Linked DNA regions of Homo sapiens: region 1 is linked to region 2. Evidence: promoter capture Hi-C in 16 types of primary human blood cells and fetal thymus (Javierre and others, 2016). All regions are on one chromosome and are shown on one strand. Each heading gives the region's core, a stretch centred on a gene start or on the middle of the fragment in contact. The rest is flanking DNA. Distances are from core to core; before and after follow the strand shown. Region 1 overlaps TMEM192 (transmembrane protein 192). Region 2 holds the start of DDX60 (DExD/H-box helicase 60).

Region 1 (4,750 bases), core at 924-3,423, 3.2 Mb after region 2:
TGCATGTGTAGTGACTCATTTAGTATTCCTGACAGAGCTACGAAGCAGGTGCTATTATTAGTCTCCTTTTTAGATGTGGAAACTGAGGCATGAGAGATGAAGTAACTTGCTCTCAGCTAGAAAGCGGTAAAACTTGTGCTTGAATCCAGGCAGTTTGCCCTTAGGAGCCTGACCTTAACCACAGCTCTTACTGCCTTTGGTCACAGTTGATCCCCCGTATGTCCTGATAATCTCTTCTAATTAGCCCAGGTCTTTGATGATGCCCATAATTGAATTAGAAAATACTGCAGAAACAGGTTTGGGGCACTCATTCATTCATCTAGCAAATGTTTGCTGAGTGACAACCATGAGATAGTGTTGAGTGCTGGGATTACAAAGACAAGAGGTGTAAAGGTAATGGGTCCAATGACGTCTAGTGGAGAAGAGATAAGTAAGAGACCATCACAGGATAGTTTGATAGAAGAGGCAAGCACAGAATGCTTTGAAAAACATGGAGGGTGGCACAATCCAGATTAGGGGTATCCAGAAAGGCCCTGTGGTGGGAATTGCCCCTTCTGAGCATGAAAGAATGCACAGACATTAGCTAAGGGAAGAGCAGATCTCAAGGCTCCAACATCTGCTGACTGAGAATGAGCTAGAGGCAGAGGGGTCTTGAAGAGAACAGGAGTAATCTGAATTGTACCATGAGTTATGGTAAACTAAACAGGAAGCAATCTAGGCATTGAATAAAAGACTTGGCCAGGCGCGGTGGCTCATGCCTGTAATCCCAGCACTTTGGGAGGCTGAGGCAGGCGGATCACCTGGGGTTGGGAGTTTGAGACCAGTTTGGCTAACATGGCGAAACCCCATCTCTACTAAAAATACAAAAATTAGCCGGGCATAGTGGCGCGTGCCTTTAATCCTAGCTACTCAGGAGGCTGAGACAGGAGAATCGATTGAACCCAGGGGGCAGAAGTTGCAATGAGCCGAGATTGAGCCACTGCACTCCAGCCTCGGCGACAGAGCGAGATTCCATCTCAAAAACAAACAAACAAACAAAACAACAAAAACAGTTGCAGAGCAGTGTTGAATACCTGCTACTGGAAATTGAGGAGCCCACTCCAGAGCTAGGTTACACCCTAGATTACTGTCCTTATCTTTGTAATCTTAGCAATCAACAGCCATCTCTTACATCATTTGTCCTACTACCTACTTCCAAAATAAAGAGCTCTCATTCTGTGTAGCCAAAACCTATTCATGAATCCTTCATTTCTGTCTCATTGTAGTGCAGTTAGCTGACCTAAATTTTTTGGCATTGTCTTCTATGCTTTTCATTTGCTGATTTGTTATGTGCTTCCCATGAACCATATTCTTTTTTTCTTTTTTTTAACATGTGATGAGAACACTTAAGATCTACACTCTTAGCAAATTAAAAGTATATACAATGCAGTATATATCCATATTTTTGAGACGAAGTCTCTCTGTCGCCCAGGCTGGAGTGCAGTGGCGCAATCTCGGCTCACTGCAACCTCCACCTCCTGGGTCCAAGTGATTCTCCTGCCTCAGCCTCCCGAGTAGCTGGAATTGCAGCTTGCGGCCAAGAGTTCAAGACTAGCCTGGGGCCGGGCACTGTGGCTAATGCCTGTAATCCCACCACTTTGGGAGGCCGAGGTGGGTAGATCACCTGAGGTCAGGAGTTTGAGACCAGCATGGCCAACACAGTGAAACCCTCCCTCTACTGAAAATACAAAAATTAGCTGGATGTGTGCCGGGCACGGTGGCTCATGCCTGTAATCCCAGCACTTTGGGAGGCCGAGGCAGGCGGATCACCTGAGGTCAGGAGTTCGCGACCAGCCTGACCAACATAGAGAAACCCCATCTCTACTAAAAATTAAAAATAAAAAATTAGCCGGGTGTGGTGGTGCATGCCTGTAATCCCAGCTACCCCAGGAGGCTGAGGCAGGAGAATTGCTGGAACCCGGGAGGTGGAGGTTTCGGCGAGCCAAGGTTGTGCCAGTGCACTCCAGCCTGGGCAACAAGAGTGAAACTCTATCTCAAAAAAAAAAAAAAAAAAAATTAGCTGGGTGTGGTGGTGCACACCTGTAGTCCCAGCTACTCAGGAGGCTGAGGCAGGAGAATTGCTCGAACCTGGGAGGCAGAGGTTGCAGTGAGCCAAGATTGCGCCGCTGCACTCCAGCCTGGGCAACAGAGCGAGACTGTCTCAAAAACAAAAAACAAAACACAAACAAACAAGACCAGCCTGGGCAACATAGTGAGACCGTGTTGCTACAGTTTTTAAAAAATTAATTAATTTTTTAATTAATTAAATTAAATTAATAATTAATTTTTAAAAAATTGGATTCAGGTAGGCAATGTGTTCTCTTGCCTTTAATTTGTATGTGGTTAAAAAGCTCTGTAGTTTAGTAGATTTGTCTTAGAAACATAATCTAGAAAGTGGTGATTATAGGTTGCTTGTTTTTCTGCACCCCAGGGTTCCTTGGATATCACCCAGAGTATTGAAGACGACCCACTTCTGGATGCCCAGCTTCTCCCACACCACTCATTACAAGCTCACTTTAGACCCCGATTCCATCCTCTTCCTACAGTCATCATAGTGAATCTTCTGTGGTTTATTCATGTAAGTTGGCTGCAAGAAGGGGACCTATCCAGAGGTGATGTTTGTAAAAATTATATAAGTGTTTCAGAGGGCAGTTGTGCTGTATCTATCAACATTTAAAATGTAGGGCACATGTTCTTAGGACATCCTGAGTGCTGTGTCATGGGCAAAAAAAAAAAAAAAAAAGTACGTACACTTTTACTTATATCTTCAAATAATTCATTGTGGATATATTTGCACACATGTAAAGATATTGTTGATAATAGCCATGTTGTCTGTCATATCAAGAGACTACAAACTACCTGGCTACTTGGCATCCAGAAGACACTGTGTGTCCCATTCATATAAGGAAATGCTATGCAACTGTTAAGAATGGGGTGGATAGGTATACAGTATATTAACATAGAATAGCCTTCATGATTACATTGTCGAGTGAAAAAAAATCAAGTTTTCAACCTTGTGTACAGAATGTTCCTATCTGCAGTTTTTAAAAGGGAGTTGAGAGGGCTGTTGTGGACCTGTTTTCCTGTATATAATAGAATATTTCTAGAAGCATTCACAGACCTAGTTGCCTCTGAAATGAGGACTGAGGGTCTTGGTGGAAGAGACACTAATATAATTTACTGTTTACTTTTGAATACTACTTGATTTTTTAACCATGTGCTTGTATTACTTTTTCAGTTACAAAAAAGATGCAGAAAAGTCTACATATGTTGACACAGGAATTTATCAATTTACTTATACCTAGGGAATAATGTTTAGCAGACAAATCAAGTTGCAGTGGAATAATATGTACAATTTTTGTATGATGACAAAATTACAACTATCTGGAGTTTATAAAAACACATGTGCAAAAGGTCTTATCGCAGGCCTCACTGGTGGTGACTCCACTGCCAGTCTGTTTAATCAGTTCCTCCCTTTCGACGATTGCAGTTGGAAGCACTAGGGGTTATAGTTGTTCTCTGCTGCAATGTGAAAAATCAAGAGGGCTCATTCTCACCACTCCTTGAGTATTTACGAGGACTGTGAATGGAGTTGATTGACTTGCTCAGCCTCTGCTCAGCCTCCTACTGATAGGTTTGCCTGTCTGCAGGGACCGTATCCCTCAGCACATTTCCTGGCTTCCCCTGCAGCTGGGATTCCTCTCCAGTGAAGTGCACTGTGGGAGACTTGAGTTCAGAACTGAATCACTGGGGAGAGAGGTGGTATCCCCTTTCCTTGAGGGAACTAGTAGCTGTGGTATGGCTCCACCATGGCTTCCTGATCCCCAGATCCCAGCTGAAGCGCTTTCTTCTTGGTACCACCATGTGCAGGGGTGGCCTTGTGGTTTCCAGATGGTGACCTCTTTTTCTTCTTTCCTTTTACTTTTTGTGTAACATACTCTGTACCAGCCTGGGTGCCATAGCAAGAACCTGTCTCTATAAAAACTTCTTAAAATTGGCCAGGCATGGTGGCACAGGCCTGTAGTTCCAGCTACTCCAGAGACTGAGGTAGGAGGATCGCTTGAGCCCAGGAGGTTGAGGCTGCAGTGAGCAGAGATGGCACCACTGCACTCCAGCCTGGGCAACAGGGCAAGACCGTATCTCACACAGAAAACAAAAATACATTTAAACAAAACAAAACGAAAATACATTTAAAAACTCATTTATAAAAATAGGACAGGGGAAGCTGTAGGTATAAGAATGTATGCTGGGAAGCCGGGTGCGGTGGCTCACACCTGTAATTCCAGCACTTTGGGAGGCTGAGGTGGGTGGATCATGAGGTCAGGAGATCGATATCATCCTGGCTAACATGGTGAAACCCCGTCTCTACTAAAAATGCAAAAAGTTAGCCAGGCGTGGTGGCGGGTGCCTGTAGTCCCAGCTACTCGGGAGGCTGAGGCAGGAGAATGGCGTGAACCCGGGAGGTGGAGCTTGCAGTAAGCCGAGATTGCGCCACTGCACTCCAGCCTGGGCGACAGAGTGAGACTCTGTCTCAGAAAAAAAAAAAAAAAAAAAAAGAATGTATGCTGGGATGGTAGTTATTGCTTCCTAATTACAAATATTGAATATTAATCTTTCTGCTCTCCTTTCCCCCAGCTCGTGTTTGTTGTTTTAGCATTTTTAACAGGTGTGCTTTGTTCTTATCCTAATCCAAATGAGGACAAGTGCCCAG
Region 2 (4,752 bases), core at 1,092-3,591:
GAGGATGAGTCAAAGTTGTCTTGAACTCTCACCTGATAAATCCGGTCACTGAAAGTCGAAACAACTGTAGAACATCATATATTCTAAAAAACTTTATAATTTAAGCAAAAAAAAATCATTTGTCCACTAGCTGAAACACTTTCAGTTGTAGAATTTGAAGCATTTGATGAAATTATGTAATAGAGAATGTTGTAGATAGGCCATTGGGTTAGACCACATTTTGAATCTTAGTATAATTTATTAGCTGTTTTATCCCTCGAAGCTTTATTTTTCTTATCTACAGAATGACAGAAATCATAGTACACACCTCATGAACTTGCTGTGATCATTGATATGGTATTAGCATATTGCTTAGCACATAGTAGCTGTCTGAATTAATTCTACCTCTTGTTATAACACAATCCATTATTTCTGCTGTTTGCAAATATGTTATTCATTTCCTACAATACAGTTTGCAATATTGTATTAGTTCTCTATGGCTGCTGTAACAAATTACCACAAATTTAGTGGCTTAATACCACACAAGTTTGTTCTCTTACAGTTCTGAGCTCAGAGGTTCAAAATCAGTCTCTCTGGGCTGAAGTCAAGGTGTTATCAGGGCTGATTTCTGGAGGCTCTAGAAAAAAAAAATGTTTCCTTGCCTTTGGTAGTTTCTAGAGACCACCAGACTCCTTGGCCCGTGGTCCCTTCCACTGTCTTCAACGCCATCTGTGTAGTGTCCCCACATTCTGTCACTGACTGTTTCTATCATCACATTGCCCCTCGAACTCCTGTCTCCCTCTTATAAAGGCCCTTCTGATGACCTTGGGCCCACCTGGATAATCCCGGGTAAGGGGTAATCTCCTCTTCTAAAGATTCTTATTTAATCTATTTTGCAAAGTTACTTTTGCTATGAAAGTTACTGTATTCATAGGTTCCAGGAATTAGGATTTTGGCCTCTTTTGGAGGGAGGAGTGCAGGGTATTATTCAGCCTACCCCAGGCAGGTACATCAGAGATCACAGTGAAGGAGACAGGAATATTGGCTGATTTAAGACCAATCATGTGTTAAATTCTAGAGTCTTTTATTTTCTTTCTTAATCTCATCACTAACAAACACGTGAATTTCTAAACAAATGAATAAACAAGTAATTGTCTGATGGATGTGAGAAATGTCCTCCTTCCCCATATCCCCCTCTTTTAACAACTTGACTCTCTAATTTTTCACAAGACAAAGTATCATTCACTACTCTCTCTGTTCTGTGTTCCCTGTGGAGCAGTGCCTGGACCTTGGCTCTTTCCTTTCCTTGTAGACAAAGCAGCCTGTGGCTTCTTATCATGCTGATTACCCAAATTCACTGCTGTCTTTCCTCCACACCCTCTTCTATTTCCAATATATGAATGCATATTTATAGCATTAATGAAATCAAGCATACGAGGGCACTGAAAGGAAAGGAGATGAGTATCGAAACCCACACTGCAAGTATCAACAGGCAAAAATTAAGAGAACATTTCATCAATTTGAGGCACAAATAAATGTGACCATTCTGCATTTTCAATTTATTTTTTAATGTTGATTCTTGGCCCATGAAAGTACCAATTACAGTTTATACAGAACAGTAATCATCAGCTTCTCATAACAGAAACTCAAAGTTCATGTATTGTTACATACTTTCTTTTTTCTTTTTGCATACAAGTAGAAGCAGCAAGATCTCCAATTTCATTGTGGGGTTTCAGATTCCACAGTGTCTTTTACATTTTATCAATTTCTAAATTCTAACTCTTCTTGATTTTATCTTGTTTAGATGTTACAAATTTTTCTGCCTCAATTTACTCTATATTTATGCCCAAATTCCAAAGCCCATTTTTATTGCCTTTGTCTCTCTCTTTTAAGGTTTTTTTTAGTTTCATTTTATTTTTAATTGACGCATAATAATTGTATATATTTTTGGGGTACAATGTGACGTTTCAATACATGTATACATTGTGTGATGATCAAATCAGGATAATTAGCCCATCTATTACCTCAAAACTTTACTATTTCTTTGTGATGAGAATATTCAAAATTCTCTCTTCTAGCTATTTTGAAATATGCATTATTGTTAACTATACACACCCTACTGCAGAATAGAATACCAGAACTGGTTCTTCCTAGCTATTGTAACTTCATACCTTTTAACTAACGTCTCGCCATGCTCCCCTTCTTAAGATTCTGATTGAAGGGAAGGATGCTAAACTTTCCACGAAAGTGCCTCGCCTAATTCGTGCTGAAGGGAAACTGAAACCTAAGTGCTTCTGAGAGGAGAAAGGAAACCGAAACTCCCGCCGGATGCATAAAAGACTGGCTGCGGTGGCTCAGAGCGCCGAGTCCTAGGCCAGGTCTGGGGTAACCTGGAACTTCCACCTGGGCTCTGCGCTAGGTCTCTGTTTCACTCCCTCCCCGCGGGGCGCGCAGCTCGCGGGTCTTTGGACACCACCGGTCCTGAGTCCGCGGTGAGGAGCCGGGGATGTCCCTTGGGAAGAGCCTGGGGCGGAGCTGTCTAGCGGGAGTTCTAGGTCTTCTTCAACGGACCGGACAGGGAGGTGGCCCAGGAGTGCTGGGCTCGGGGCGCGGGAATCTGGGGAACCTCCTGGGATCGCAAGGCCGTGGCGCACGGGCCCCCTGCTGGCCCGGAAGGCCGGGCGTGGGGAGGGGCGGAGGAAAGGGACAACCGCGAAAGGCCTGAAGTCTGAGACAGAGAGGAGTGCTTAGTTAGGCATTTAAGGAGTCCCCGTCAAAGGTGGGAGCTGGGTAATGGAGGTTGAGGAGAAATTAAGGGACATCATATCTAAGCACAGCCAGTAAAACCTGTACATTGACAGCAGCAAGAAGCTTCCACCTTCAATCCCTGCTCCAGACTTGTAGAATCAGAATCTGCGTTTATTAATAAGATTCCCCCAGGTAATTTCTGTGCACCCTTAAATTTCAGTGGCTTAAGACAATAGAAATTTATTTCCTACTCCAGTAACTTAATTTATTCCTGGTCAAGGGGCAGGTATAGTGGCTTAAAACATTACAAGTTTATTATTTTACAATTGCTGTGGATCAGAAGCCCAGGCATGGGTAAAGTGAGTTCTCTGTTCAGCATCTCATCGAGCTGAAATCAAGGTGTCAGAGCTGTGGCCTCATGGGACACCATGGATGCTCATTCAGGTTGTTGGAAGAATTCAGTTTCTTGCAGCTAAAGGACTGAGGTTACCTGCTTTCTTGCTGGCTGTTGGCTGGGGGTTCCCATGTCTTTAGATTTCACCCTGAGATCTTAGCTACAGTGGCCTTCTCACAACAAGGTGGCTTATACCGTTAAAGAAGGTATAGGGTACCTTTAAAGAAGGTATAAGCCTCTTTGGGGGAATCTCCCGAGTCTACTATGATGAAGTCTTACATAATATAACCGAATCATTAAAGAGACTATGCCATTAAATTCACAGGTCCTGTCCACACTCAAGGGGAGAGGGTTATACCGGGTACTGGAAGCCATTTTAACCCACCAGCTCTTCTCCAGGCAGGGTTTCAGGAGCTTGATGCCTTTCATCAAGTAGCTCCACCATTCTGTTCCAATACAGAATCCATGATTTCCTTTCCCTTCCCTTGCCCCCATTTTTTTCCTCTTTACCTCCCCTTTGCGCCTTTCCTCTTCCCTCCTTTTTTCTCTTTTCCATTTCTCTTCCTCCCTTCTTCTTTTCTTCTTCCTTTTTAAGATTGTTTGAATCAGAATATGGTTCTGACACTACTGTGATTGGAGGATAAGCCTTATAAGGTTCTTGCAATTTCTTTCATCCCCTTTTAATTTATTCGTTTGTAAGATTTGTGGTCTTATGATTGTTTGTTTTTGTATGTGTGTGTCCTGTTGGGTGTGTGTTTATGTGTGTGTGTGTGTATGTGTCCTAATCCCTGTGGTGTCATTTAACATATTTTGCTGGCCTCTAAATTTCTTGTAAATTAATCATTACTACTAGCGTTTTGATCAGATTCAGGTTTTCTTTTTTTTCTTCTTCTTCTTTTTTTTTTTTTTTTTTTGAGACGGAGTCTTGCTCTTTTGCCCAGGCTGGAATGCAGTGGCTTGATCTCAGTTCACTGCAACCTCTGCCTCCCAGGTTCAAGCGATTCTTCTACCTCAGCCTCCCAAGTAGCTGGGATTACAGGTGACTGTCACCATGCCCAGCTAATGTTTGCATTTTTAGTAGAGATGGGGTTTCACCATGTTGGCCAGTCTGGTCTCGAACTCCCGACCTCAGGTGATCTGCCCGCCTTGGCCTCCCAAGTTTTGGGTTTCTTTTTTTTTTGGCTGGGAGAACTACAATACTTCACTGATGGTGTGGACACTTGCCTCTATTTTTGTTGTGCTATCGTTTAAAAATACCAAGATCTGTTAATTCATTAGGAGTTGTAAAATGGTGATATTCTAATTCTATCATTCCTTCTGTGTTTATTAGCTGCATTATTTCTAGAAATGAATCACTCTTGTATCTACTCTTTGGTAATGCGATGGTGCAGTACTTAGAAGAAAAGCAGGATAATTTCTTGATTCCATAAACCATTATTTTTTTTCATATATTGTCTTCAGATGCTATTGCTGGACATCCTGCTGTGAAAGATGAAGAATTTAGCATTCATATTTATTTTTCTTTCATTCATCCCTTTGTGAACTGCCAAGTTGGTTAATTATATTATTATTTTCATACTGTCAAGGTTTATCATATTTTACAGCAGTTTGTGACTTTGATTCTTGTGATT

What was found. Contacts are between HindIII fragments. The CHiCAGO score rates a contact against its expected background, and 5 or more counts as called.
Region 1: a contact is called between a fragment that was not itself captured here and the fragment with the promoter of DDX60 in region 2, in 1 of 17 cell types (naive CD8 T cells). The highest score is 6.6, in naive CD8 T cells.

What each region holds. Positions count from the first base shown.
Region 1 is chr4:165,100,817-165,105,566 of GRCh38, reverse strand. It overlaps TMEM192 (transmembrane protein 192), which reads left to right. Exons shown (of 6, transcript NM_001100389.2): 2 at 2,471-2,617; 3 at 4,675-4,750. Among named protein-coding and RNA genes, the nearest start is that of TMEM192, 9.7 kb to the left of the region's middle. The HindIII fragment of the contact is 5,860 bases long and covers 1-4,750 here.
Region 2 is chr4:168,316,341-168,321,092 of GRCh38, reverse strand. DDX60 (DExD/H-box helicase 60) reads left to right here and starts at 2,341. Exons shown (of 38, transcript NM_017631.6): 1 at 2,341-2,471. RefSeq lists an enhancer at 2,078-2,407. The HindIII fragment of the contact is 2,588 bases long and covers 265-2,852 here.